Regions from separate parts of the Homo sapiens genome. Here regions 2, 3 and 4 are each linked to region 1. The links are contacts of gene promoters, found by promoter capture Hi-C in blood cells and fetal thymus (Javierre and others, 2016). All regions are on one chromosome and are shown on one strand. Each heading gives the region's core, a stretch centred on a gene start or on the middle of the fragment in contact. The rest is flanking DNA. Distances are from core to core; before and after follow the strand shown. Region 1 holds the start of DELE1 (DAP3 binding cell death enhancer 1). Region 2 has its middle 60 kb from the start of ARAP3. Region 3 holds the start of LOC124901092 (a long non-coding RNA gene). Region 4 overlaps ARAP3 (ArfGAP with RhoGAP domain, ankyrin repeat and PH domain 3).

What was found. Contacts are between HindIII fragments. The CHiCAGO score rates a contact against its expected background, and 5 or more counts as called.
Region 2: a contact is called between a fragment that was not itself captured here and the fragment with the promoter of DELE1 in region 1, in 1 of 17 cell types (endothelial precursors). The highest score is 6.5, in endothelial precursors.
Region 3: a contact is called between a fragment that was not itself captured here and the fragment with the promoter of DELE1 in region 1, in 1 of 17 cell types (endothelial precursors). The highest score is 6.5, in endothelial precursors.
Region 4: a contact is called between a fragment that was not itself captured here and the fragment with the promoter of DELE1 in region 1, in 8 of 17 cell types (erythroblasts, naive CD4 T cells, total CD8 T cells and 5 more). The highest score is 6.8, in erythroblasts.

Annotation. Positions count from the first base shown.
Region 1 is chr5:141,921,961-141,925,384 of GRCh38, reverse strand. It overlaps DELE1 (DAP3 binding cell death enhancer 1), which reads right to left and starts at 1,514. Exons shown (of 12, transcript NM_014773.5): 1 at 1,413-1,514; 2 at 690-804. The coding sequence starts at 1,443. RefSeq lists an enhancer at 1,120-1,633. The HindIII fragment of the contact is 14,517 bases long and covers 1-3,424 here.
Region 2 is chr5:141,740,869-141,744,228 of GRCh38, reverse strand. No RefSeq gene overlaps it. Among named protein-coding and RNA genes, the nearest start is that of ARAP3, 60 kb to the right of the region's middle. RefSeq lists a silencer at 533-827. The HindIII fragment of the contact is 850 bases long and covers 1,414-2,263 here.
Region 3 is chr5:141,718,933-141,722,204 of GRCh38, reverse strand. LOC124901092 (a long non-coding RNA gene) reads left to right here and starts at 1,397. Exons shown (of 2, transcript XR_007058973.1): 1 at 1,397-3,272. The HindIII fragment of the contact is 2,207 bases long and covers 879-3,085 here.
Region 4 is chr5:141,675,736-141,679,031 of GRCh38, reverse strand. The region is part of intron 4 of ARAP3 (ArfGAP with RhoGAP domain, ankyrin repeat and PH domain 3); the gene reads left to right. Among named protein-coding and RNA genes, the nearest start is that of ARAP3, 4.8 kb to the left of the region's middle. The HindIII fragment of the contact is 9,046 bases long and covers 1-3,296 here.

The DNA of each region.
Region 1 (3,424 bases), core at 265-2,764:
AAGTAGGGGCAAAGGGAGACCAGGGACTGGGTGCGGTGGCTCACACCTGTAATCCCAACAATTTGGGAGGCTGAGGTGGGTGGATCACGAGGTCAGGAGTTCAAGACCAGCCTGGTCAAGATGGTGAAACCCCATCTCTACTAAAAATATAAAAATTGGCTGGGTACAGTGGCTCACACTGTAATCCCAGCACTTTGGGAGGCTGAGGCGGGCAGATCATGAGATCAGGAGATCAAGACCATCCTGGCTAACATGGTGAAACCCCGTCTCTACTAAAAATACAAAAAAAATTAGCCAGGCGTGATGGTGCATGCCTGAAATCCCAGCTACTTGGGAGGCTGAGGCAGCAGAATCGCTTGAACCCAGGAGGCGGAGGTTTCAGTGAGCCAAGATCGCGCCACTGCACTCCAGCCTGGGCGACAGAGCGAGACTCTGTCTCAAAAAAAATAAAATAAAATAAAAATTAGCAGGGTGTGGTGACGGGTGCCTGTAATCCCAGCTACTCGGGAGGCTGAGGCAGAGAACTGCTTGAACCTGGGAGGCGGAGGTTGCAGTGAGCTGAGATTGCCCCACTGCACTCCAGCCTGGGCGACAGAATGAGACTCCATCTCAAAAAACAACAAAAAAAAAAAAATAAAAAAAAAGGGTGACTAGGGGAGGAAATGAGTGGTAAAATGGCAGTATCTTACCTGTCGAGGTTAGGCACAGGAACCAGCAAAGTGGAGGAGGTAGTCTGAGGCCCATCTGGGCTGGTGGACTTAGGAGTCACCCTCCAGAGGCTAGGTCCCAGTGTACGGGGAAGAGCTGTACAGAACAACCAAAACTCAGGCACCTCAACAAGAACCCAGGAATCACTGTCATCTGCCTCAGCAGAGGTTCTTAAACATGGATACACATGGGAATCTTTTATCTACTACAGATTCTAGGGTAGTACCCCAGAACCAATAAACTAAGATTTCTCAGGGTAGAGCATCCACGTTTTTTAAAAGCGCCCATGTGATTCTGCTGGTCTCCTGTGGATGCCAACCACTGTTCTAAGATGACCAAACGTTCATACATATACTCTCACTAATGTTTGGGGCTCTTTGACTCTAAACCTCTCCTCTCTTCACTGGCTATGCCTACTCCATTGGCCCCTAATCCTCTTTCATTCATTCAGTCCACCATCTCCTGCCATTGGACTCCTCCCCCTCCCAACAGTCCTACCAACTTCTTGGACTCCACCCTCTTCTAGCTAGGCCCATCCACATCTCAAATTCCAGCAGCCCCTGACTTCCCCGCCCTCTTTCAAGCCCCGCCTTCCTTGGCTCTAACCCGGCCCACGATCGCTTCGGCTGTTTCCTCGGGCCCGCCCCCACTCCAGTTCGGTCTTTGCGGCCCAGAGTGACGCTGGTTGCTTGGACGTCCCTTACCTCGGCCCAGGAGTCCCGGGAGGCGCCACATGTCGCTGCCAGCACCACAGAGAGCTCGCAGCCGAAAGCGCGAGACCAACCCTTGGGACAGCGGCTAGAAAGGCCGCCGCGATGCCCCGAGTGGCCGAGTACCCGAGGAAGCTCTGAGCTGGCCAATTAGAAGGGAGCCCGGCCGGAAAGACGGCGCTGCAGAGAGGAAGTGCAGGGCGGAGGCGTATTCGGGGCCAGCGGGGCGGTGACGTGCGGCAAGGGCATGGGGATGTGGGCCCAGGCTTCCGTGGGGGATGTCCTTGGCGTTCCCAAGCCGAGGCAGGGGACCGCAGGTGGCGAAGCGAGCCACCCGGAAGCGGGACCTTCGGGAAGTGGGGCTGGAGCGGCTTCAGGGAAGTAAGAGGACCTTGCAGACCGTGAGGCCGCGAACCAGGAAAGGCTTCTCCAGGCCCTAGGCTTGAGGAAGTGGGAGTAACCAGGCTCCATGGGCGGAGGAGAGGACCCCCGGGGTCCCACAAATGAAGCCAGTAGGCCGGGCTTCCGTCCAAGGCCACCTGCCTGGAGATGCCAGGCCAGGGCCCGACTGCGTAGGCGATGAGAAACCGCACAGGGCAAGGCTTTGATTCTGGGTTCTAGCTCCGGTCCAGCTTTATCTCACTGTGCAGCTTCATGCCAACCCCTTACCTTGTCGGGGCCCCAATACGCGCCAGATAGGGTCAAATGGAATGACTGGCCTGACAAGCTGAGATTCTTGGGTAGCTCCTTTCAAAATACCTGAGACACCACCCGCGCCCTATTAGAACCCTCGTCTTCAGACGTGGCAAAAGTTATGTATGTGTTTGTTCTTTTGTGGAAAAGAATAGTTCCGTCTGGTCCCGGTGGCTCACGCCTGTAATCCCAGCACTCTGGGAGGCCGAGGCGGGCGGATCACCTGAGGTCAGGAGTTTGAGACCAGCCTGGCCAACATGGTGAAACCCTGTCTCTACTAAAAATACAAAAATCAGTTGCGCGTGGTGGTGGGCGCCTGTAATCCTAGCTACTCTGGAGGCTGAGGCAGGAGAATTGCTTGAACACGGGAGACGGGAGGTTGCAGTGAGCCGAGATCGCGCCTGGGCGACAGAGTGAGACTCCATCTCAAAAAAAAAAGGAAAAAAAAATAGTTCCTTTCACCACATTTGAATCCGTGAAATAACGGAGCTTACATTCAAGTATAAGATGTTTAGATTTCCTCCCTATCCCCTTCCTCCAGGTATGTGACTTTAAGGTGAGTGGAAGTTGCTACCTGGGGTAAAAGTGTACTGGGGGCACCTACTTTTAGACCGAGGCATGTGGCTTGAAAGTTGTATTAATATGTTAGACAACTTTTTTTTTTCTTTTGAGACGGATTCTCTGTCGCCCAGGCTGGAGTGCAATGGTGTGATCTCGGCTCACTGCAACCTCTGCCTCCCAGGTTCAAGCGATTCTCTTGCCTCAGCCTCCCAAGTAGCTGAGATTACAGGCGCCTGCTACCACATCCTGCTAATTTTTGTATTTTTAGTAGAGACAGGGTTTCACCATGTTGGCCAGGTTGGTCTCGAACTCCTGGACCTCAGGTGATCCTCCTGCCTTGGCCTTCCAAAGTGCTGGGATTACAGGCTTGAGCCACCGTGCCTGGCCGTTAAAGAACTTTTGAGCCATATATCAGCCCGTTCTAGGATCTGAGAAGACAGCTGAGGAAAGAGCATTTGTGGCCTCCAGGAACACGGTCCAGTGGATTAGTAGTGGGCTTTGGAGTCCCACAAATCTGGGTTGGAATCACAGCTTGCTTACTTCGTAGGTATGTTATCTTGTGCAGGTTCCTTAACCACACTAAGTCTCAAGAGCTTCATCCGTAAAATAGGGAAAATACCTCATGCAATTGTTGTGAGGTTTAAATAAAATAATATGTTAAAAATGTTTAACTTGGTGTTTTGGGAATACCCTTCAAAAAATAAAAAATAAATAAATAAAAATGTTTAGCATAGTTCCTGGCACATAGTAAA
Region 2 (3,360 bases), core at 589-3,088, 180 kb after region 1:
TCCCTCTCTTCTGCTCCCTTCAGAGGAACTGAAGAAACTAGATCTCCTTGTCTCTCAGGCTAGATAGCAGTAATTGAACTGTGGGCTCGCTCAGCAGCTGGACCTGAGAGTAGGGCTAGAGGAGGGAGTGGGGATGTCAGAGGGGAGCTGGAGGAATGAGAGCAGGGAGGGGCCTGGGAGGGTGAGGGCACTCAGAGGGGCTGGAGGTGGCTACTGAGCCAGGTAATCTAATCAGGGGGTGAGTCATAAAGATCACTCACTCCCGTGCACAGGACCAGCCTAGGAAATCACATTAATTTAAAGAGGGTGTAAAATCCACGGAGAATTCCCCTCTCTCCACCACACACATGAAGATAAACTGTCTTCAACTTCCAATATGATCTTACAACAGCTTGTCAGTGACAAAACAGCCTCAAATCCTCCCATTTATCAAATGGCCAATCCTGTTAGCGGCTTAAAAGAGACATAATTACCTGCGGCCTTTTGTGTGATTCTTTATACTAACACCACTTCCTTCTTCCTGGCAGCATTCCAGAACGTGAGCTCAGAATTCATTCCTGGTGATGGAGGGGATCTTCAGAGATGTTAAAGTTGGGGGGCAAGAGGGGTTGAAGTCAGAAATTCCGCTTGGGCTGGGATGTGGGTTAGCACCATGGACAGGGCCAAGGGCTGAGGGAGCCTGGGAGCGGCCTTGTGTGCAATGGGTAAAGCAGCACCAAGTCCCACTCACGTTTGCAGGCACCGCGGGGCCAGCAGACACCTGCCGGCGGCCAGCAGGCATCCGGAGGGCTAGGGGCCAGCTGCCTTTACCGAAAAGGCAGTGTAGGCCTCTGCCCAGGGTGCATAAGCACTGACAGTGGGGACAGAAGATCGACGTGGCTTGGCCTGTAGATCAGTAACTTGGGTAGAGTTCTCTACTCTCAGGATGAGCGAGGAGTTTTTGTGACTTCAGAATCTGCCATGCTGCTACCAGGGAGAACATTAATGTTCCCAGCTAATATTTACTGAGTGCTTGCTATGGGCCAGGCCCTCTGCTCAGCACTTTATACACACGATCTTAATTAATATAAACTTCATGTAACTCTATTCTAACATCCATTTTATAGATGAGGAACCAGATGGTGAGTGAGGCTAAGTCACACGTGCAAGGTCACTCAGGGATGACTCAAACTTGTGGTCTATGAACTGGGCTGCCTCCAAGGCAGGCTCTGGCCATGAGGAGAGATCAGTTCTGTGATTCTGGGTTGGTCCCTCTCCCCCTCTGCCCTTATTCCTCAGGGAGCTCAGTTGGGGCAGGTCTCTGTTCTCACTACTTCGATGGATAAGAGAATCCCATGGCATAACTTTTCCTTCCATAAAGAATAAGACTTCCTAAAAACTGGCTTCTTTCTGGCAAGGTCTGCTCTGCAAGCTTGCATCTGCCTTCTCTCAGCCCCTCCCTCGCCCCGCTGGTCCAGGTCCCTGCTGGGCCTCATCCCTCCATTCCAGGAGGTCACCTCGCCCCTCCCCTCCCACTTCCCACTGCCAAGGCCCTACTTGCTTCCAGCCTTCCCCACATTCTTTTCCACTTTCCAAGAGGTCCAAAGGAATCATCTCTTGGGAGGAAACCGTCAGAGTCCATTTGGAAGCCAGATAAAGAGGCAGACAGCGAGACAGACAGCAAGAGACAGACAAGAGACAGACTGAAAATGAAATTTGAAGCACTGTTGAGTCAATAATTATGGTCAAGTCCTGTTGAGAGATGAGTCCAGGGTAAGCTAGCCAGGGGTATCTCACAGGATTTCTAGGACTCACTTTTCCTTAGCTGGCTCCTGCTGCCCTCAGCCCTCCATCCTTGCCCCTCTCCCTCCCTGGGCTGCCTCCCAGACCAGCATCCTTCCCCCCACCCCACCCAGCCTCAGGGCATTCATCACTGGGTTAGTGATTTATCAAAGGCTCTGACAGTTGCTGTTTGGCAAAATCAATCTGTGAAGAATGGGACCAACCCAAGGCTCCCTGTTCTCCTGAGCCCCCACCATCAATCTGCCCCAAAGGAACTCCATGGCTCTGACATCGGCACTGCCCCTGCCCCCACCCCAGACTTGAGTGGGTCTCTGGATCCCTACCTGTCCTTAGAGAGAAGGGAAAGAAGGAAGGAAAGACAGAGAGAGAGAGAGAGAGCATATGTGTTTTGGTGCCTTCTCTTAGATGTTTATTTTGTTGTTTTTAAGTGAGAAAGTCCCAGCTCTATTAAATGCAATCAATACTTGGCCCAAGAGAAGCTTCCCTTCTCTGAGACATTTGAAACCTGGTCAAATCATTTTGCCCCAATACAAAGTAATTTATCAATTTCAAAACCTTTCTAATCAGTGGAGGCTGTGGAGTCCCCATTCCTGCCTGCCATCTTCTGCTGCAGGACAGGCACACACACATGCAAATACACACATACACCCAGAGTTGTGCATAAACTCCTTTATTCTCTCTGCAAACCACCCTCCCTCCCTCCCACCTCCCAGAGACTGCAGAATGTCTTCCCCTCAGTTCAGCCTCCAGGCTAGGTGCCATCCTCAGCATCTTCAGCTCAGCCTGTGTGCTCCTAGCCCAGAGAGGCTGCAGGCCCTGCGGGCCCTGCAGGCCTATAGCACTCAGCCCTGGAGAGATGGAGGTAGACACGAGTCCAGCCACAGTGCACTAGTGAGTGTGCTCCTCTTCACCTGGTGTGTAAACAGTGGGGTGGAGCTGGGGACTCTGGTTCATAGGCAGGGTCCAGAACTGGGGCCAGGGGGCTGGAAGGAGCCCCAGGGCCACCAAAGTTGTCCCTTAGGACCTTGGCATAAATCTCCGAGGGGCAAACAAGATCTACTGGCTGGAGTGAGGTTTGCTGGCTGAACCTGGGGATGATGTCACAAAACTCTCCTGCCTCTAAAGCTGCTATTTTTGCCCTCGAGGACAGGCCGTGTCTAAAGGGAGACTGTGACAGCAGCAAAATCACCTTGCAACTCACCCTCCCACTCCCAGGAAGAGTGGCTTGAGCCTTTACCACTCCATTAGATTGGATTCTCGGCAGGATTCTCGGCAGGTCTTTTGTGGCCGCCAGCTGTGGTGGCCAGATAGGCCACTGACCTTTGAGGAGGGGCCACCCACTGAATGGCTAATTTAAATGCTCTCCTTACAATGGACTGTGCACATTTGGCCCTCAGAGAGTGACTGAGGGAAGTGACTCAGCAAGCCAGAGTCCTGGTTCACAAGCGAACTCAGGAGCATAGATGACATGTGAACTTTCCGAAACCTCTACCCATGGAACAGTCAATCCAAAGGCCTTACCTTGGCGTTCAAGGCCCCTCCATCTGGCCTAACCTAATATCTCCAGGAGACCTTTCA
Region 3 (3,272 bases), core at 733-3,232, 200 kb after region 1:
CAAAATCAGAAGGTAAAATGTCATAAGGGAGAAAGAGGGCAAAAGGACCATAAGGGGAAGCCAGAGTCATGAGGAAACAGGAATCTCAAGATGGAAAAGCAGGCCAGGTGTGGCAGTTCATGCCTGTAATCCCAGCACTTTGGGAGGCCAGGGCAGGCAGATCACTTGAGGCCAGGAGTTCGACACCAGACTGGCCAACATGGCAAAACCCCATCTCTACCAAAAATACAAAAAATTAGCCGGGTGCGGTAGCTCACACCTGTAATCCCAGCTACTTGGGAAACTGAGGCAGGAGAATCACTTGAACATGGAAGGCAGACGTTGCAGTGAGCCGAGATCACGCCATTGCACTCCAGCCTAGGTGACAGAGTAAGTCTCTAGTCTCCAAAAAAAAAAGAAAGAAATTAGTTGGGTGTGATGGCACATTCCTGTAGTCCCAGCTACTCAGGAGGGTGAGGAGGGAGGAGAATTTGAGCACAGGAGGCAGAGATTGCAGTGAGCTAAGATCACACCACTGCACCCCAGCCTGGACAACAGAGTAAGACTTCACCTCAGAAAAAAAAAAAAAAAAAAAAAAAGAGGGACACAAAAGCAAAAGCCACAATACATAGAAAATGGGTGGTGAGAGGAGAAGAGGCAGACACAGAGAGAAGCTAAATTACTTGAGCTACCACCTCTTCCTCCAAAGGTCCTTCCTCTAAGCCACTCCGAGGTTCAAATAACCTAGTTCAGTTACAATGTGTATGGAAAGTTGTGTTATTGGTCAAAATATTTGCTGTTCCTCCCTTGGGTGCCCTTTCTGAAAGTGGAACATACTTCCCATTGATGAGAGGCCTGCCATGCGATTTGCTTTGGCCAATAAAATATGAGGGAAAGCTTTAAGAATCAGTGTGCTCCTCTATTGGCCTGGGCTCCAGAGTGAAGAAAGCAGGGGAGCAGAGCTGCAGCTGACCCATGACAGATATGTAATATAGGGGAGAAATAAACATTTGTCATAGGCCTCAGGGATTTGGGGACTGTTTGTTACTGCAACATAATGTAACCCACACTGACTGATACACAGCCTATATTTACAGCAGTTCCTGCTCATCTTGTAGCCTGATTATTCATCTTTTCCTGGATTTTCAGGCACATATTTCCTTACAGTCTTCCCTCACCTATTCCTTTTTTTTTTTTTTTTTTGAGATGGAGTCTCGCTCTGTCACCCAGGCTGGAGTGCAGTGGCGCAATGTCTGCTCACTGCAAGCTCTGCCGTCTGGGTTCACGCCATTCTCCTGCCTCAGCCTCCCGAGTAGCTGGGACTACAGGCGCCTGCCACCACACCCAGCTAATTTTTTTGTATTTTTAGTAGAGACGGGCTTTCACCGTGTTCTCCAGGATGGTCTCGATCTCCTGACCTTGTGATCCACCCACCTCGGCCTCCCAAAGTGCTGGGATTACAGGCCTGAGCCACTGCGCCCGGCCTTCCCTCACCTATTCTTATAACCAACAAGAAATAAGCCTTAAACAGTCTTCCTGATATGTAATATTATTCTGGAGAGCGCTATCCCTTAAGCCAGGAATTACAGGACTGATGTTTCATGATCAAGTATCCCTTTTTACCAAGTCCCTTTCCAACTCCTAATCTCCAAAACTTCCTGTAGCCTCAAGAGAATGTGGAATAAATAGATCTGATTATTATAAAACTGCACAATTGCATGATTTAAAGTAATTTTATTTTACTGAATTTCATGTTTATAAATTTTAAAGAATTTCTTTAAAACAAAATCAGAAATGGTTCATTTTACAGATGCTGACTTCTCAAACTTAAGAGAGTCATAGATTTGAGTACATACTGCACTAGTGATGATAATGATGATACAGACATAAATTTATGCAGAACTTTCATATTTCCAAAACATATCACACATTTGCTTGCTTTAAATTCACAACAGCCTGCAAATATTATTCCCATTTTACATATATGGAGACTGGGGATGAGAAAGTTAAAGGAACTCTTTACAAATTATGGAGGTGGTACTGTATCTCCCAGCACCTTGTTCTTCTGCTGCTTTTCCTCCACCTGCTACATCTGTCATAGCAGGCACTTATAGGAAAGGGGGGCACCTACCTCCATGACAGAAGCTGGGGAGGGGTAGTCAGAGACATCCCTGAGTTGAATAAATAAGTGAATACATGAATATATGACTAACTGAATGGATGCATGAATGGATGGGTGGACGATAGATAAATTGATGAGTGGATTGATGGGCAGATTAATGGATCTATGGGTGGGTGGATGATGAATGGGTGAATCTCTTTTGTTTGGATGAATGGGTAGATGGATGGATGGGATTCCTGTGGTCTCAGAGAAAAGGCAGTGGTGTTCTCTCAGTGTCTAGAAAGTGTGTACAGACACTTATAATACTCTACCAGCCAGAATTCCTTATGCTTAGCCATATCTTAACCCTGCCTGCCCAGGTATTTCAATCATCCTTCATCCTCAAGAAAATAGAATATCTTTCAGCCATAAGGTTGTCTATTTCTACTCTCCAACTTACTAGCCATGTTTACTGTACCTCTCCCTGCCTCAGTTTATTCACCCGTAAAATGGAGATGAAAATAACATCTCATTCATAGAGTTGGAATACATAATATATAGATAGATCATTTAGTAAAGTACCTAACATATCATAAATTCTCGATAAATAATAACTATCACCCTTAATATTCCCTAAAGTTCAGAATGGTTGCCTGTGAAAATCAAAGTGAGTCCCCACTCACTAAGCATGCCATATGGTCATTATGGTCTTTAGCCCTTTTTCATTAGTGGTGGAATCTGCAATCATACAATAACCTTTATTTTATTACACAGCCCTTGGAAATTGAGGGTTTCATCTGTGTCAATTAATTCCTTCGCAGCCCACATTGGCAGTGACAATCAGAATGTCAAAATGTCTCAGAGGATTTCTAGGAAATCTGTGGCACTTCACGAAGAGGCTGCCCCGGGTGAGAGACCAGCCAGAGTGAATCGTTAATACACTTCCCAGGAAGGGGGATTCTTCTGAAATGCTAATACAATCAACTGCAAGGCAAACTTCAAGCTTCTTTTTCAGTGATCAGAGAGGCCCTCCCAGAGCAAGGATGCTCTCCACTGTGCAAGCTAAAGGCCCTACTTTCTCACCCAGCCTTTTCTGGGGAGGAGAAACACATCCTCACCACATTGCAGCTGCCCTGCGAGGGCTGCAGGTATTGTGTGTCCCCACCAGCCAGGGCAGTTCCCAGACAGACTC
Region 4 (3,296 bases), core at 677-3,176, 250 kb after region 1:
CAGGCATGAGCCACTGTGCCCAACCAGGAGAAGTGCTTTTCATTTTTTCATTCAACAAATATTTATTGAGCAACTATCATGCACCGGATGTAGATGCTTGGGATAGATCAGCGTACACAGAAATCCCTGCCCTTGTGGGGAGATAGTCTATTAACAATAAACATAATACATTAAATACTATAGAACGTTAAAAGGTATTAAGTGCCATGGAAAAAATAGAGCAGAGTAAGAGGGCTGGGGGGTTGGCCGGGCATGGTGGCTCACACCTGTAATCCCAGCACTTTGGGAGGCTGAGGCAGACGGATCACCTGAGGTCAGGAGTTTGAGACCAGCCTGGCCAACAGGATGAAACTCCGTCTCTACTAAAAATACAAAAATTAGCCAGGTGCGGTGGTGGACGCCTATAATCCCAGCTAGTTAGGAGGCTGAGGAAGGAGAATTGCTTGAACCGGAGAGGTGGAGGTAGCAGTGACTAAGAAAAAAAAAAAGAGGGCTTGGGGGCAAAATGGGTGGACTGCAATTTTTCATTTACAGTTAGCGGAGCGTTAAGAAGATGACATTTGATCAAAAACTTGAAGGAGGTGAAGGAGTTAGCCATGAAGATAACTGGGGAAGAGTGCCCCGGTAGGGCAAGTGATTGGAACAGAGGCCTCAAGGCGGGTGTGTGCCCAAAGGGATCCAGGAGCAGTGAGGAGGCCAGGCCATCTTGGCTGGGGCAGGTGAGCCACGGTGGGAGGAATGGCAGGAGATGAAGTCAGAGAGGTAAAAGAGGCCAGATAAGGGTCAGGCACAGTGGCTCATGCCTGTAATCCCAGCACTTTGGGAGGCCAAGGTTGGCGGACCACCTGAGTTCAGGAGTTTGAGAGCAGCCTAGTCAACATGGTGAAACCTCGTGTCTACTAAAAATACAAAAAAAATATAGCCGGGCGTGGTGGTGGGCGCCTGTAGTCCCAGCTACTCAGGAGGCTGAGGCAGAGAATGGCGTGAACCCGGGAGGCGGAGCTTGCAGTGAGCAAAGGTTGTGCCGCTGCACTCCAGCCTGGGCAACAAAGCAGGACTCCGTCTCAAAAAAAAAAAAAAATAGCTGGGGGTGGTGGCGCACACCTGTAGTCCCAGCTACTAGGGAGGCTGAGGCAGGAGAATCACTTGAACCCGGGAGGCGGAGGTTGCAGCAAGTCAAGATCATGCCACTGCCCTCCATCCTGGACAACCGAGTGAGACCCTGTCTCAAAACAAAAACAAAAACAAAAAAAACAAAAACAAAAAACAAAACAAAACCAAAAAAACAAAAACAAGGGGCCAGATAAGGGACTTTGGCTTTTACTCTAAGTGAAATGGGAAGCCATTGAGGGGTTTTGACTTTATAAAGGGATCCCCCTGGTTGCTATGTTGGGAGTGGTCTGTAGGGGGCCAAAGGAGAAGCAGAGAGACCAGTGGGGAGGTTTTTGTAGTAATGTAGGTGAGAGACCTCAGAGTGTAGTGATAGTAGTGGAGATGATGAGAAGTGGCTTTATTTTGAAGGCAAACTGTCAGATTAACTTGGGATGTGAGAAAAAAAGAGCAGTCAAGAATGACTTTGAGGGCTTCCATCTGAGCTGGTGCTGACCAGTATGGTAGCCATTAGCCACATGTGACTACTGGGCCTATGAAATGCGGCTAGTATCCTTTGAGATGCACAATAAATGTAAAACACCTGCTAGATTTCAAAGACTTAATATGAGAAAAAGCAATACTGGATGAATATAACAAATATAAACATAAATTATCTTATGTTTATATTTTTATGTTGATTACAGAATTTTTATGTAGTAAAAAATAGTAATTTTTATGTTGATTACATACTAAAATGTTAATGTTTAGGATATATTGGGTTAAATAAAATATATTATTAAAATTAATTTCACCTGTTTCTTTTAATTTTTTTAAACGTGGCTACTGAAAAGTTTAAAATTACATACTTGGTTCGCATTAACTTCTGCTGGATAGCACTGTCCTGAGCACCTGAAAGTTCCTGGAGCCGCCACGGTCTGAGATGGGGAAGACTGTGTTCAGGCAGCTGGGAGGAGAGGGTAGATTAGGAGTGCAGTTCTGGATGTGTTGAATTTGAGGTGTAAGTTATGCCTCCAAGAAGAGGTGAAAATAGACCACTGGGTAGACGAGCTTAGAGTCTAGAGAGAGGTCGGAGCTGGAGACCTAAACTTGAGAGTTGTCAGCACTTAGATGGGTGCATAGAGCTGTGAGTGAGTGCAGATAGAGAAGAGGACCAAGATCAAAGCCCTTGTGCACTCCCATATCTAGAGGTTTGGGAGAAGCGGAAGAATCTGCAAAACGGACAGAAGAGAAATAGCAAAGTAGAAGGCCAGGAGAATGTGATGTCATAGGAGCAAAGTGAGGAAAATGTAGAAGAAGAAGGGAGAGGCCAGCTGTGTCCTACGCTGCTGAGGGGTCTGCTGCTGAGTATGATAGGACTTAGAATTCACCCTTGGAATTGGAGGTCACTGGGGATCTTGACAAGTACAGTCTCAGAGTGATGGGGTGAAAGCTCGATGAGAGTGGGTTTTAAGGGAGAATAGAAAAGTACAGACAGTGTCTTTTGAGGAATTTTTCTGCAAAGAAGAGCAGAGAGTTGGAACTATTGTTGCTAGAGGAAGCTGAGTCAAGAAAAGAGTTTTTTTGTTGTTTTTGAGACGGAGTCTTGCTCTGTCACCCAAGCTGGAGTGCAGTGGTGTGATCTCGGCTCATTGCAACCTCTGCCTCCTGGGTTCAAGTGATTCTCCTGCCTCAGCCTCCCAAGTAGCTGGGACCACAGGTGCGCTTCACCACACCCAGCTAATTTTTGTACTTTTAGTAGAGACGGGGTTTCACCATGTTGGCCAGGATGGTCTCGACCTCTTGACCTCGTGATCCGCCTGCCAAAGTGCTGGGATTACAGGCGTGAGCCACCGTACCTGTCCAACAAGAGTTTTTTATTGGATGCAATGTTATATAGGTTTGTAGGTGAATAGGAATGATCTGGTAGGGAGGGACAGTTATGTAGGGGAGAGGAGAGTGAGGGATGTCTAAGTGATTGTGTAGGTGAGAGGAATAGGATTAAGGGCACAGAGGAGGGTCTGGCTTTAGACACGAGTGTTTATTATAGTCACAGGAGGAAGGCAGAATATGTGCGTGAAATTGGGTAAACATGGCACTGGGAGTCTGTGGGGGTTCTTATCTGATTACTTCAATTTCTCAGTGAAGTAGGAAACAGAGGCTGCAGTAGCAGTTTTCAACATTAGCTGTATCATAGGCTGGGGAAA